2 separate regions of the Homo sapiens genome follow, and region 2 is linked to region 1. The links are contacts of gene promoters, found by promoter capture Hi-C in blood cells and fetal thymus (Javierre and others, 2016). All regions are on one chromosome and are shown on one strand. The core of a region is centred on a gene start or on the middle of the fragment in contact, and the rest is flanking DNA. Distances in the headings are between cores, read along the strand shown.

Region 1 (6,154 bases), core at 2,465-4,964:
ACAAAAACTGCTTCTTCTTCTCTGATAGGTAATCTGAGTCAAGGTAGAAGACTATGCAGGACTCAGATTAAATAACTGTGGAGGTCCCATTTTCTGACTTTCTTAAACAGGTAAAATTAAATTGAACATCAAAAGTAGTCCTCAATCCTAAAAAGTGCAGGTAGGAATAAGAAGTAGAGAAGGAAGGAGTCAAGAGTGTGGTTTTTAATACACCTATATAAGTACACCATAGGAGACATAAATACATGAAAAATGAGCAAAAATGAGCAAAGTTGCTGAAGATAGCCTAAGATGCTGGGCAGCCCCAGATTCTGTGTAGCTGCCCCAGAGCCTACATGAATCAATACTCTAAGCAGTCCTGTAACCCAGTAAAAGCCCACTCTGGACCAAGGAAATACAGAATTACCAAGCAGCACCAGGCTGGTGGATGTATGGAGACTGAGCTATGTGATTATAGTTCTCTATCACAGTCACTGCCCAGATGCCAGGGCAGAACAGGTGGAGAGATGGATTTATGCTGTCTGGGGTTCTCCCAGACAAATATAATGGCGGGAGAGAGGAGCAAGGGAGCTCAGGCTATCTGCAATGAGGTAACATGAACGACTATTCTTGTCTTTAAAATACTGTCTACCTCAAAGAGCTGTTGTAAACATTAAATGAGATATGTAATACATTTTGTATCTGTTTAATGTTTACACATTAGAAGCCTTTTGTATGTCTAATGGGTATGGTATTTCTAAATAATTTTAAAAGATATTAATATGAAGGCAGAAAGTATACACCATGAAAATGATGTATACTTCATTTCCAAACAGAATGGCTTATTAAACAAAACAACTGATCAACAAAATTGCATTTTCTACTTAAGATTCTTGTCAATGAAGTCACAAGCAGAAAAAAGGATACAACATTTAGACTCAATTTAACTGCTTTTAACCATTTGTGCATTGTAAAGTGCTTCAAACACAAATTATCATGTGTGTTTTAGCACAACCAGCCTAAGGCTATCAGAGATAAACCTGTCAAACTTACTGATTCACTGCAACGAGGGGAACTGCACACCAGGAGTCATGGGTATCTCACCAACCCAAAGAAAGGAGTGTCATTACAAGATTTGGGGCTAGGGTGGAGTTGAGGTGAAATTTACATCAAGCAGTGTTTAAAAAGGTTCAAAATAAAGCAGGACTGTATATAAAAACGTCAACATCAGATCTGGATTGTGAAGGCTCCTCTTTCCTTGGAAACTACAAATTTAAGATAAATGTGGAAAGTTGTGTCCAGAAACCCTTAATGGGAAGCTCTGACCTGGGTTGGAAATCAAGAATGCTTCTCTACAAGGCAAGAGTGGGAAGGTTCCCTCTTATTGAGAGAACTTTAAACAGCAAAATTTCTTATATATTCTATGGTTTTTGAGACCAAGGTTTCTCAGTGAATAAGAAAGCAGCAGACCTTCGTGGGGGTCGTTATGACATTATGACACATCACCATTTCCTGTTAACTCTGCAGCTGTACATCGGTGTAGTGTGGGGGAAACAAAAACAAAAAACAAAAACTTTGCAGCTGGCTTTATCTGTGTCTGTTATCCCAGCCTGATGAAAAGCAGGGCAGATTTTTATTTTCTCAGTGGGAGTTAACACTAACTTCATCATGTCTCAGAATAGTTTTGTTTTTAAAAACATAGGTGTGAACTTGAGCTATTCTTACTTGTTCCAGTATCTCAACTAATATTCTTTTGTGTTTCTATTCATATTTGCTATGGTCATGTTCCTTAAGTTTCTGACTGAATCCACTCATTTATATTTCTTTATATATACTTTTTCAGACCGAGTCTTGCTCTGTCACCCAGTTTGGAGTGCAATGGCTCAATCTCGGCTCACTGCAACCTCCACCTCTCAGGTTCAAATGATTCTTCTGCTTCAGCCTCCTGGGTAGCTGGGATTACAGGCGTCTGCCGCCACGCCTGGCTAATTTTTGTGTATTTTTAGGAGAGATGGGGTTTCACCATGTTGCCAAGCTGGTCTCGAACTTCTGACCTCAGGTGATCTGCCCGCCTCGACCTCCCTAAGTGTTGGAATTACAGGCGTGAGCCACCACGCCTGGCCTATATTTCTTGCTTCCGATTTAAAAATTCTTTTTTCCAACATACCTCATGATTAAGATCCTATTTTTTCTGGTTTCACTTTGGATCAATTGTCAGCAAGTTTGAAAACTGTACTCATAGGCCGGGAGGAGTGGCTCAAGCCTGTAATCCCAGCACTTTGTGAGGCTGAGGTGGGCGGATCACCCGAGGTCAGGAGTTCAAGACCTGGCCAACGTGGTGAAACCCCGTCTCTACTAAAAATACAAAAATTAGCCAGGCATGGTGGCGGGCGACTGCAATCCCAGCTATTTGGGAGGCTGAGGCAGGAGAACCGCTTGAACTCAGCGAGGCGGAGGTTGCAGTGGGCCGAGATCACGCCATTGCACTCCAGCCCGGGCAACGGGAGTCAAACTCCGTCGGGGGTGGGGGAGGGGGAGAAAAGAACACTGTACTCATGAAATAAGAATTATTTTCAAAGGAATTAGAATGCAATTATTTTCATGGTCAAAAACAGTTGTGCTTACAGTTTTTAGACTGGATTACAGAGCAGGAAGGAAAACATGGAAAGTGAAAAACCGTATTATTTGCAAACACACATTGCTTCTTCACGGAATCGATCCAAGTCTCTTAAAATTTTGGTCTAGACTGCAGTGTTAACATTTGTTAAGCTTATAAATAGTAAGCAGAGGAAATAGCCGAGGAAAGCACGGATGAGGTGCGGAAAGAACAGAGTTCTAGATCAAGTGCCAACATTAAAATTAGATTCAGGGAAACCACTAAATTCTTTTGACAACTGAACAGGTTTAATATCTTATAGCTGGTAAAAGCTTACTTACTTGAAAGTTCAGTAAAAGCTCACGTGTAACTCTGGAAGTCCCTGGTAGGTTTTCACAAATATGCACGGACAAATGAGACCATCAAATTAATAGTGAACACTTCTACGTAACAGGCCCTAAGAACCCAGGCCCTCAACAGGACACACGTGTGAATGCTTGGTCACAACGACTGACCAGAAGAATCAATTTTCCTTCCCAATCATCCTTTGGCCTGGGTTTGGATATGACATACTTCTCTAGGCTGGGGCTAACAAGGCTGTGTGATGAGTGGACAAAATACACGTCACATAACCATAGTAAGAAGGTGAAGACTGGAGCCTTAAAAATCAGCCGGCCCAACTGCCAGAAGACCATTATATTTACGGATAAAGAAAGAGAAACAAAGTATTTGTAACTGTGAGCGGGACTAAGTGCCTGTAACAGTTTTTTTCTCCCTCTTGGTGGGAAGGCAAAACCACCACCACAAAAGAAAAGCAAAGGAAGGTCTCAGTAACAATTCGAAGCACCTTAACACTGAGGAACTCTCAGCCTCAACGAGTGAAAACCCCAGAGAATAAACGTACCCCCGCCCCGGACAGACCTACTCCGCACCCAGCGCTGCCACCTGTCTGCCTCTTTCTCCTTCCTAACAGGAACCGAAATCCTCACCTGATCTTGGCAGTGCCGGTGGATAAAATCCCGGACGGTGCACCGACCCGAGGCACACCGCACCGCCTTGCACCCGAAGCCAGGGCCGCGAATCCACACCAGCGCCGCGGCCTCCGCCATGTCACCGACTACCCGAACCTCAAGCCTCTCTGAGACACCAGGCGCCGCAACTCGCCCGGCGCCTCTTGATGACGCGAGCATCTTCCAACGCCCCGCCCCTCACGCTTCCGTTCACCCCTCCCCTCCCCTGGGGCGGGTCAAGTGAGCCGGGCGGCGGGGCGGTGCGGGCTGGGGGAGGGGAACAGGAAAGGCCTGGCGGAGGCAGATAAGGCGGCAGAGCACGGGGCGAGGCGTTGCTAGGAGAAGTTGCTAGGGCGGGGCTCGAGGGACCGGCTATAAAAGGCTGGCGCTGGGTTAGGTTTCGAGCTTCCTGGCCGTAAGCGATAAGGCTTTAACTGAGAACCACCTTGTGCTGTAGGCTTTGGCCCTTTTCCTCACATCTGTGTAGTTATTTTTGGGTCGCGGAGAATTGTGGCCCGAGAAGGCTCTGCTCCTTGAGAGTGTGGGGAGAGAAGCTGCAGTCCCGGAAGCGGTTTTAGGGGGCCGCTTCCTTGGCCTAGAGGAGCTCCCCAACCCGAGGGGGCAAGGGAAACGACCCCCAGGAGGCCCCTAAACAGTGGCCGGCGTGGTTTCTCCTCCAGCTTTACAGAGCCTTCTCTTCCCCTCCAGAAACAGCCAACCTCCGGGTTTCTGCCTGCCACGCACGGTTTATTCTTATTTCCGCCTGTTTGTGCACTGCGTTATCTCCACTTCAGCTCTGTTTTCAAAATATTTCACAGCAAGTGGGCTCTTGTGAAAGGCAGTGACAGGAGTGACGTTTATAGTCATGCTGCTTCAAAAAACCCTACCATAACTTTTATTCTGCACCATGGAAACACACTCGGACAGATTTGCATAACGTAACCTTAAGGCTCAGGGAATCCGAAAGAGTCCCTTAATATTTAACAGAATGAGATTATGGTATTTCTAAAACCCTGAACAATTCAAAAGCCACCAGTGTGAAGATAGGAAGGTTATTTGGAGATATCTGTGCCTGCTAAACACAAATGCATCGGCCCACAGAATTGCCTTCTCTGCTGTTAAAATGCTTGGCAAATGGAACTCCTAGCTGAGGGGGTAACAACAAAAAATTCAGAAATCGTTTAGCGGTGGCAGTATGTGCGAAAATGGAATTTCAAGGCCTGGGAAGTTAATAGATTCAGTGGTCTTTATTTCACACACGAGGGAAAGTTGGGGAGAGAAAGGGCCTCCATGGGGATGCCAGTAGATAAATAAAAATTACAAAAAAAAAAATAATAAAGATAGATTGTACTGGCCGGGCGCGGTGGCTCATGCCTGTAATCCAGCACTTTGGGAGACTGAGGCGGGCGGATCTCGAGGTCAGGAGTTCGAAACCAGCCTCACCAACATGGTGAAACCCCATCTCTACTAAAAATACAATAATTAGCCGGGCGTGGTGGTGCGCGTCTGTAATCCCAGCTATTCAGGAGGCTGAGGCAGGAGAATCGCTTGAACCCGGGAGGCAGAGGTTGCAGTGAGCTGAGATCGTGCCATCGCACTCCAGCCTGGGCGACAGAGAGAGTCTCCGTTTCAGAAAAAAAAGATATATTGTACCTAGGAAGCAGTATTTCGGAAAGGTGGTGCCATGGCAACCCTGGGGCGTGAAGGTGTCGCCAGGTTACATGTAAGCCGTCCAAACTCCAGAAACCTCAAGTCCCTCTGCAGTCTGCTCCCCAGCTCTCTGTCCTCCAGGTTCCTGAAAAAGTAATCTACAGATCTGAGCCTTAAGCCTCTTCTTTTTTTATTTGTGATTTCTTCCTTCTGGTGATCAAAAATGACTATTTCAAATAAATAAATAATTTTTTTAAATGACCATTTCAAAGGTCTGAGATCCTACAAGTAACTGTATAAAGGTCAGTTTGGGTTTCCAAAACATTTTTTGTGTCGGGATAATGCTTCGTGTCTTGTGAGGAATTATTATGATTAGTCTTTTTTTTCTTTCTTTCTTTCTTTTTTGAGACACTCGCTCTGCCACCTGGGCTGGAGTGTAGTGGCGCAATCATAGCACACGCAGCCTTGAACTCCTGGGCTCAAGTGATCTGCCACAGACTCCAGATGGATTACAGGTGCATGCCACCACACCTGGCTAATTTTTAAATTTTTTGTAAAGACGAGTTTTTCGCTAAGTTGCCCAGGCTGGTCTTGAACTCTTGGGCTCAAAAGATCCTCCCGCCTCAGCCTCCCAAAGTGCTGGGATTACAGGCGTGACCTGCCGTGCCTGGCATAAGTAGTACTTTCCAGTAAGGAAACTCCACATCATTTATTACTAACATTATATTTAGTCCTCATAAAACCTGATGTCTGAATGGAATTTTTCGCTTTTTATCCCTCTGTTGCATTTAAATTCCTATTATTTAAAGAATCCCAAGTATTGAATAGGTATTTGTCATTTAAAATATGAAATAACCATTGATATTAGCTTTTGAAAGACACAAATTTCCAAGTAATATATAATTTGTTGTTAAAACTT
Region 2 (6,154 bases), core at 2,078-4,577, 1.6 Mb before region 1:
AGCACTTTGGAAGGCTGAGGCAGGTGGATCACCTGAGGTCAGAAGTTCGAGACCAGCCTGGCCAATGTGGTGAGACCCCATCTCTACTAAAAATACAAAATTAGCCGGGTGTGGTGGCGCATGCCTATAATCCCAGCTACTCAGGAGGCAAGGCTGAAGCATCACTTGAACCCAGGAGGCGAAGGCTGCAGTGAGCTGAGATTGCACCATTGCACCCCAGCCTGGGTGACAATAGTGAAACTCTGTCTCAAAAAAAAAAAAGGAAAGAAATTAAGAGTGAAGACAATGTAACTAGGTGGGAAGCTACTATAATATTCTAGGAGAGATGTCCATGGCTTAACTAGGCTAGAAACTGTGGAGATTCAGAGAAATGAAAATTTTATATTTTTTAGAATTAGGCCATACATGTCAAAGTTAAAAGACAAAGAAAAAGCAATATGAGGCTTAAGTTCTTCCCTTAAGCAACTGGGTTGAAGATCTTGCGATATACTGGAAGTGGCACAGGTCTGTAGAGGTTAAATTTATTCCTAAATTATTCTTTTTTATACTAGTGTAAATAAAACTGTTTTCTTAATTCCATTTTCTGAATTATTCATTGCTAGATTATAGAAATACCATTATTCTTGTGTATTGACCTTGTATCCTACAACCTTGCTGAACTTGCCTATTAGTTCTAAGAGTTTTTTAGTGGATTCCTTAAATTTTCTTTATATAAAATCATGACATCTTTGAACAGAGATAGTTTTTCCTTTTCAATCTTTTATTCCTTTTTCTTGCCTAATTTCCTTGGCTAGAACCTCCAATACAATGTTGAACAGACGTAGCAAGAGTAGACATCATTGTCCTATTCTTGATCACAAGAAGAGAGGTTTCAGTCTTTCACTGCCAGCCCTGTGAGTTTTCATTAATGCCCTTTATTCGGTCAAGGAAGTTCCTTTCTATTCCTAGTTTGTTGAGTGCATTTATCATGAAGGGGTGAATCCAGAATTTTGTTTTGAGGCTGGGTGCAGTGGCTCATGCCTATTAACCCAGCACCTTGGGAGGCCGAAGCAGGTGGATTGCTTAAGGTTAGGAGGAGTTCAAGGCCAGCCTGGGCAACATAGCGAGACCTGTCTCTACAAAAAATGAAAAAATTAGCCACATGTGGTGGTACATGCCTGAAATCCTACCTACTTAGGAGGGTGAGGCAGGAGGATGGCTTGAGCCCAGAAACTAGAGGTGGCAGTGATCTATGATTGTGCCACTGCACACCAGCCTCATACAACTGAGACATCTATTAAACATCCAAGTGGAGAATGTCAGGTATGCCAGTAGATATACATATTGGGAGTTCAGATGAGAAGCTAAATTTAAGAGCCACTGGTATACAGATAGTATGTGAAGGCATGGTATAGAATGAGATTACCTAAAAAGAGTATGTAGATAGAGAATAAAGAGGCCCAGGATCAAACCTTTGGGTACTCTAACATTTTAAGGATTAATGTGGCGAGGTACAGTGACTCATGCCTGTAATCCCTGCACTCTGGGAAGATCACAGGAGTTTGAGATCACACTGGACAACACTGTAAGACCCTGTCTCTACCCTTCACCCCCCAAAAAAGGACTGATGTTGATGTGAGGATTAAATGAGGCTGTTTATGTGAAAAGCTTAGCAAGGGCCTGGCACATGACAAGTATTCACTTAAAAAAGTTAGTGTGCACCAATACTGGAAATGTCATTGTTTACTGTGATCCATATCATATGATTTTTATTTTGTTTTTAACTACAAAAGCTGTCCTTGGAATGTAATAGGGTTTTCATAGAACATTCTAAAATAGCATTTCACAGGCAATACATATTTTCTTCTCCCTTTCACCCACTTAAATATATCTCTATCCTAATCTGAACAGTTTCCTAGAATGACCAAAATAGTTGATCCACACAGGAGTGAGTTTACCTAGACAAATATCTAAGAATTTAGCAATAATCAAGATTTTATATTTTGGAAAAATGTTAAAGAAATATAACTTTGGCCCTCCATTAACCTGAGTTCAAGAACTCAGTTTCCTTACCCACTAAGAACATGAATGCGCTCTGTATTGTATTTCAGCGGCGTCAATTCACAGCGTAGAACTTGAAGTGCCTCCAGGACCTTGCCATCCTCCAGGTATTCTAGGTACTTCTGCTGCAGCAGCAAAAACTTCATCCTCTGACATGACAGAAAGCAGCAGTCAGGGGAAAAAAGTTGATGGAAGTTTCAGAAAATGTTTGTGCCTAAACAGAACAGTAGAAACCATTCTACTATGCCCTTTGAAATAACTTTTTATAAAGCTTCAAGATGACTCAAAATATTTTAGTTTAGTAGAGCCACAGTAGATTAAATGTGACTTTGCTCAATTCCACATCTTACTAAAACTCTGCTTTGAACAAATAATCTCAAATCAGACTAGATCATTAGTGACTGAGGCATCAGCCTTGGAAAAAATGAATTCTCCTCTCAAAGCAATCTCCTACAATTGTAGTTCTTGTATAAAAATTTAGAACTATTCCAAGTACTTGAAATTTGCTTTTTAAGAAGTATGACTTTATAACTAGGGCACTGGGGGGTTTTATGCAACAAGTTTTGAAAAGATTAGAGAAAAAAATAGCAAATGAACTATTTAAGTCACAATGTGAAAGAGGGAATAAGTAGACCAGAAATCAGAACTAGACACACTCAGGAGAAGGAGAAAAGTATATTTTGGCTTATCAAAAGTTAAGAGCTGTCCAACAAATGTACTACAAGTTGGTGTGCAAAGTATTGAATTTCCTACAACTAACGTGGACAAGCATAAGCTTGATGCACTCACTCTCTTCTAGGCGGCTATTAAGGGATGTCTACGTTAGATGGTTGAACTTAAAGGTTTTTAAAAAGATTCAATATTTGTACTTGTGTATTTCTGACAATCTGATCACTGATGCATTTAAAAGTGAAGCACAGGAAATTATTATTCGCTCTTTTCTCCCCTAAACCAATAAACCACTTTCCAGCTGTGAGACACTTTCACATTTAGTTTTTTCCTGAACTGTGTTTTTGACTTTAATACTTTTAAATGCTACTTTATTATTTTACTTTTAACTTGAAACCACGTGGTCACAATCTTAGCAGTTTTTTACAAGAGAAAAGGGATATTTATAAACATCATTTTGAAACTTCTTTTAAACCTTAAACCTAATTAAGGACCACAGGTTGGAGGGACCTTTTCATCATAGTTGCTACTTGTGGAGCTTGAGCAAGCCAATTAATGTAAACAGAGACATCAGTAGGTAGGAAATGTTAGTCATATTTAGAGACTCCAAGGAATACAGCGGTAAAGATCTCAAGTCCACTTAAAATTAAAACTTAAAGTACAATTTTTCTTCTTCGTAAGATGCTTTTCTTCTTTTTTTTTTGAGACAGAGTCTCACTGTGGCCCAGGCTAGAGTGCAGTGGCGTGATCTTGGCTTACTACAACCTCTGCCTCCTGGGTTCACGCGATTCTCCTGCCTCAGCCTCCTAAGTAGCTGGGATTACAGGCACCCGCCACCACACCCAGCTAATTTTTGTATTTTTAGTAGAGACAGGGTTTTGCCATGTTGGCCAGGCTGGTCTTGAACTCCTGACCTCAAGTGATCTGCCCACCTTGGCCTCCCAAAGTGCTGGGATTACAGGCATGAGACACCGCACCCGGCCCAAAATGCTTACTTTAAAACCATAAAAAAATACACTGCTGTCACGAAATGCTGTGGAGAAATTACCATTTATTTGCAGAATTAACAGTATAATAAACTGCTCTACAAGATTTTCTATCAAGGAGTATTTAGAAGAGAGATATAAACTGTAAGCTTATAAAAGTGGTTTCTAGAGAAAGTAAGCAATAATAAACCCTCTCATATAAGTTAGGCATGTATTTAAATTTATAAGATACATTTCTTTTGCTTGATACAAATCTCATCTTAAATATACGGCTAAGGAACAGAAAAAAATTCAAACTGAGACACTCCTGTAACTCTGGGAAAATTACACTTATCAAATTTTACATATAAATTTAGAATGACTAATGAATGTTTCAGAAATACATTAATTACCAAGATGCTCTGAAAAGTACATTACTGTACATACAGCCTGAAGTTAACCTTTCTATGTTAAATGAAAAAACTTTGTCATTCATCAGGTCACAGAAACCAAAAACTAAACAATGCAAAAAAAAAAAAAATCTAAAAATAAAAGAATTTTATATTTGAAGTTATTCTGGATATTCGCACCATTTTAGCTTCTGAAAAAAATGCAACTATGAAATGAAGACCTCATATATTTTCATTTATCAATATAATGTTAAAAGTTTCATTCCACCGGGTGTGGTGGCTCACACCTGTAATCCCAGCACTTTGGGAGGCTGAGGCGGGTGGATCACGAGGTCAGCAGTTCGAGACCAGCCTGACAAACATGGTGAAACCCCGTCTCTACTAAAAAAAAAAATACAAAAAAATTAGCTGGGTGTGGCAGCGGGTGCCTGTAATCCCAGCTACTTCGGAGGCTGAGGCAGGAGAATCGATTGAAACTGGAAGGTGGAGGTTGCAGTGAGCCGAGATTGTGCTACTGCACTCTAGCCTGGGCAACGAGAGCAAAACTCTGTCTCCAAAAAAAAAAAAAAAAAAAAAAAGTTTCATTCCATTTTGTGGTATTTTTTAAATTCAAACTTGAAAATCTTATTCAGTTGCAGAACTTTTTCATTTAAATGTCACATGGAACTGGCCAGAGCATGAGATGTAATTTCTTCACTAAATTTTCTTAGTAATTGGGAATTGAGGGGCTTAAAAAAAAATTTCAGGGCAAGTTTTTTATTTACTTAATATTTATTTTTTTTGGTATCAATCATTAGGCTCCTATGCCCACCCCTCCCCCATTCCAATGTGTGCAGGGACAGTGCCCAAAGCGCTATTTCTCCCTTATTTTCCCACCAAGATCTTGATACAACATGTTACTCTTTTTCTATGGGGCAGAGGTGGGGCAGGAGAGCAGAGAAAGGCTGACTAAAACTCTGAGAGAAGCCAATATAAACACATATTTCTGTATATACAGGGAATGCTATAAAAGTAGCACAAGAGCATTTCTCTATGAGTCATTTTATCCAGATCAAGACCAAGAATATTCTCAAACAGATATCAAATCCTGGTATTGTGCATGGCAACTAACATGCTGCTGGCCAAGCACAGCTAGAGATCTGTTTGAAAGAAAATGTTTATTCTCCAAAAAATCAGTTGAAGTATTTGACACATACGATAAGGGTGGGGAGTAAAACTGTATTTTACCTCCCAAAATTTAAAGCACAAAAATGTAAATATAACCTCAAGAAAGCAAAGACCCTTTAATTAACAAATAATGTTAAATATTTACTGAAAACATTGTAAAAATCAGACAAAATTAAAGCTTGCTGAGATGGGGACAGGGCTCTACTAATGTTTATATTTTTTAAAAAATCTTGAAGAAATAAAGACAAAAAAAGATTAGGAAAATAAACTCTCCTTTATGTCTTTCCCCAACTCCCAACTAGATCTCTTAAGAGATTATTTCTGGTCTCTAATGATTTTTTACCATCTCTGGGCCCAGCAAGATCTCCTTCTCCATTTTAATATCTAATAAATTTGAAATTGTTAAGTGACTAGGATAGCTTGAATGATAGTTTCACGTCGTAAATTCTGCTGTTGCTCCCCTAGTCCACCCAATACTGAATTGCTTTATTCCTTCCTTTGCTCCCATATTATTAAACTGAACTCAACATGAAAGAAAAACCCAGAAATTACGATACTTAGAAAGTCTGGTTCTCAAGGGCGGCCTCCTAGCTAATTCAGTAATGGTTCTAACTCTGGAGTAAGGTCATAACCAAATCTTATCAATTAAATCATGATTTCTCAGAGAAAAGGGGAAATAAATTATATCTAAACTTGGCACTCAAAACTCCTATTTGACTTTAAAATATACTAGTTAATTATAGATGCCAATTTTTCTTAAGCATATTTCCATTATATTAAAAAATAACCAAATATTTCTAGACATAAAAAAAGTTTTCTATTATTGGTCTCGTATACCCATCCAAATTGCCCAGAAATGGCGAAGTATATTTGAACCCAAACTAAAAAATGCTGATTTGGCCC

What was found. The method cuts DNA at HindIII sites, captures the fragments that hold promoters and counts their contacts. A CHiCAGO score of 5 or more calls a contact.
Region 2: a fragment that was not itself captured here is called in contact with the fragment with the promoter of SDE2 in region 1 in 1 of 17 cell types (neutrophils); the score reaches 5.7 in neutrophils.

Annotation. Positions count from the first base shown.
Region 1 is chr1:225,995,629-226,001,782 of GRCh38, forward strand. It overlaps SDE2 (spliceosome associated SDE2), which reads right to left and starts at 3,715. Exons shown (of 7, transcript NM_152608.4): 1 at 3,565-3,715. The coding sequence starts at 3,684. RefSeq lists enhancers at 1,397-1,446, 3,570-3,679, 4,200-4,349, 4,370-4,469, 4,550-4,599 and 1 more and a silencer at 3,740-4,019. The HindIII fragment of the contact is 16,010 bases long and covers 2,906-6,154 here.
Region 2 is chr1:224,422,466-224,428,619 of GRCh38, forward strand. WDR26 (WD repeat domain 26) reads right to left here. Exons shown (of 14, transcript NM_001379403.1): 4 at 2,053-2,189. Among named protein-coding and RNA genes, the nearest start is that of WDR26, 9.3 kb to the right of the region's middle. RefSeq lists an enhancer at 5,916-6,154. The HindIII fragment of the contact is 1,029 bases long and covers 2,814-3,842 here.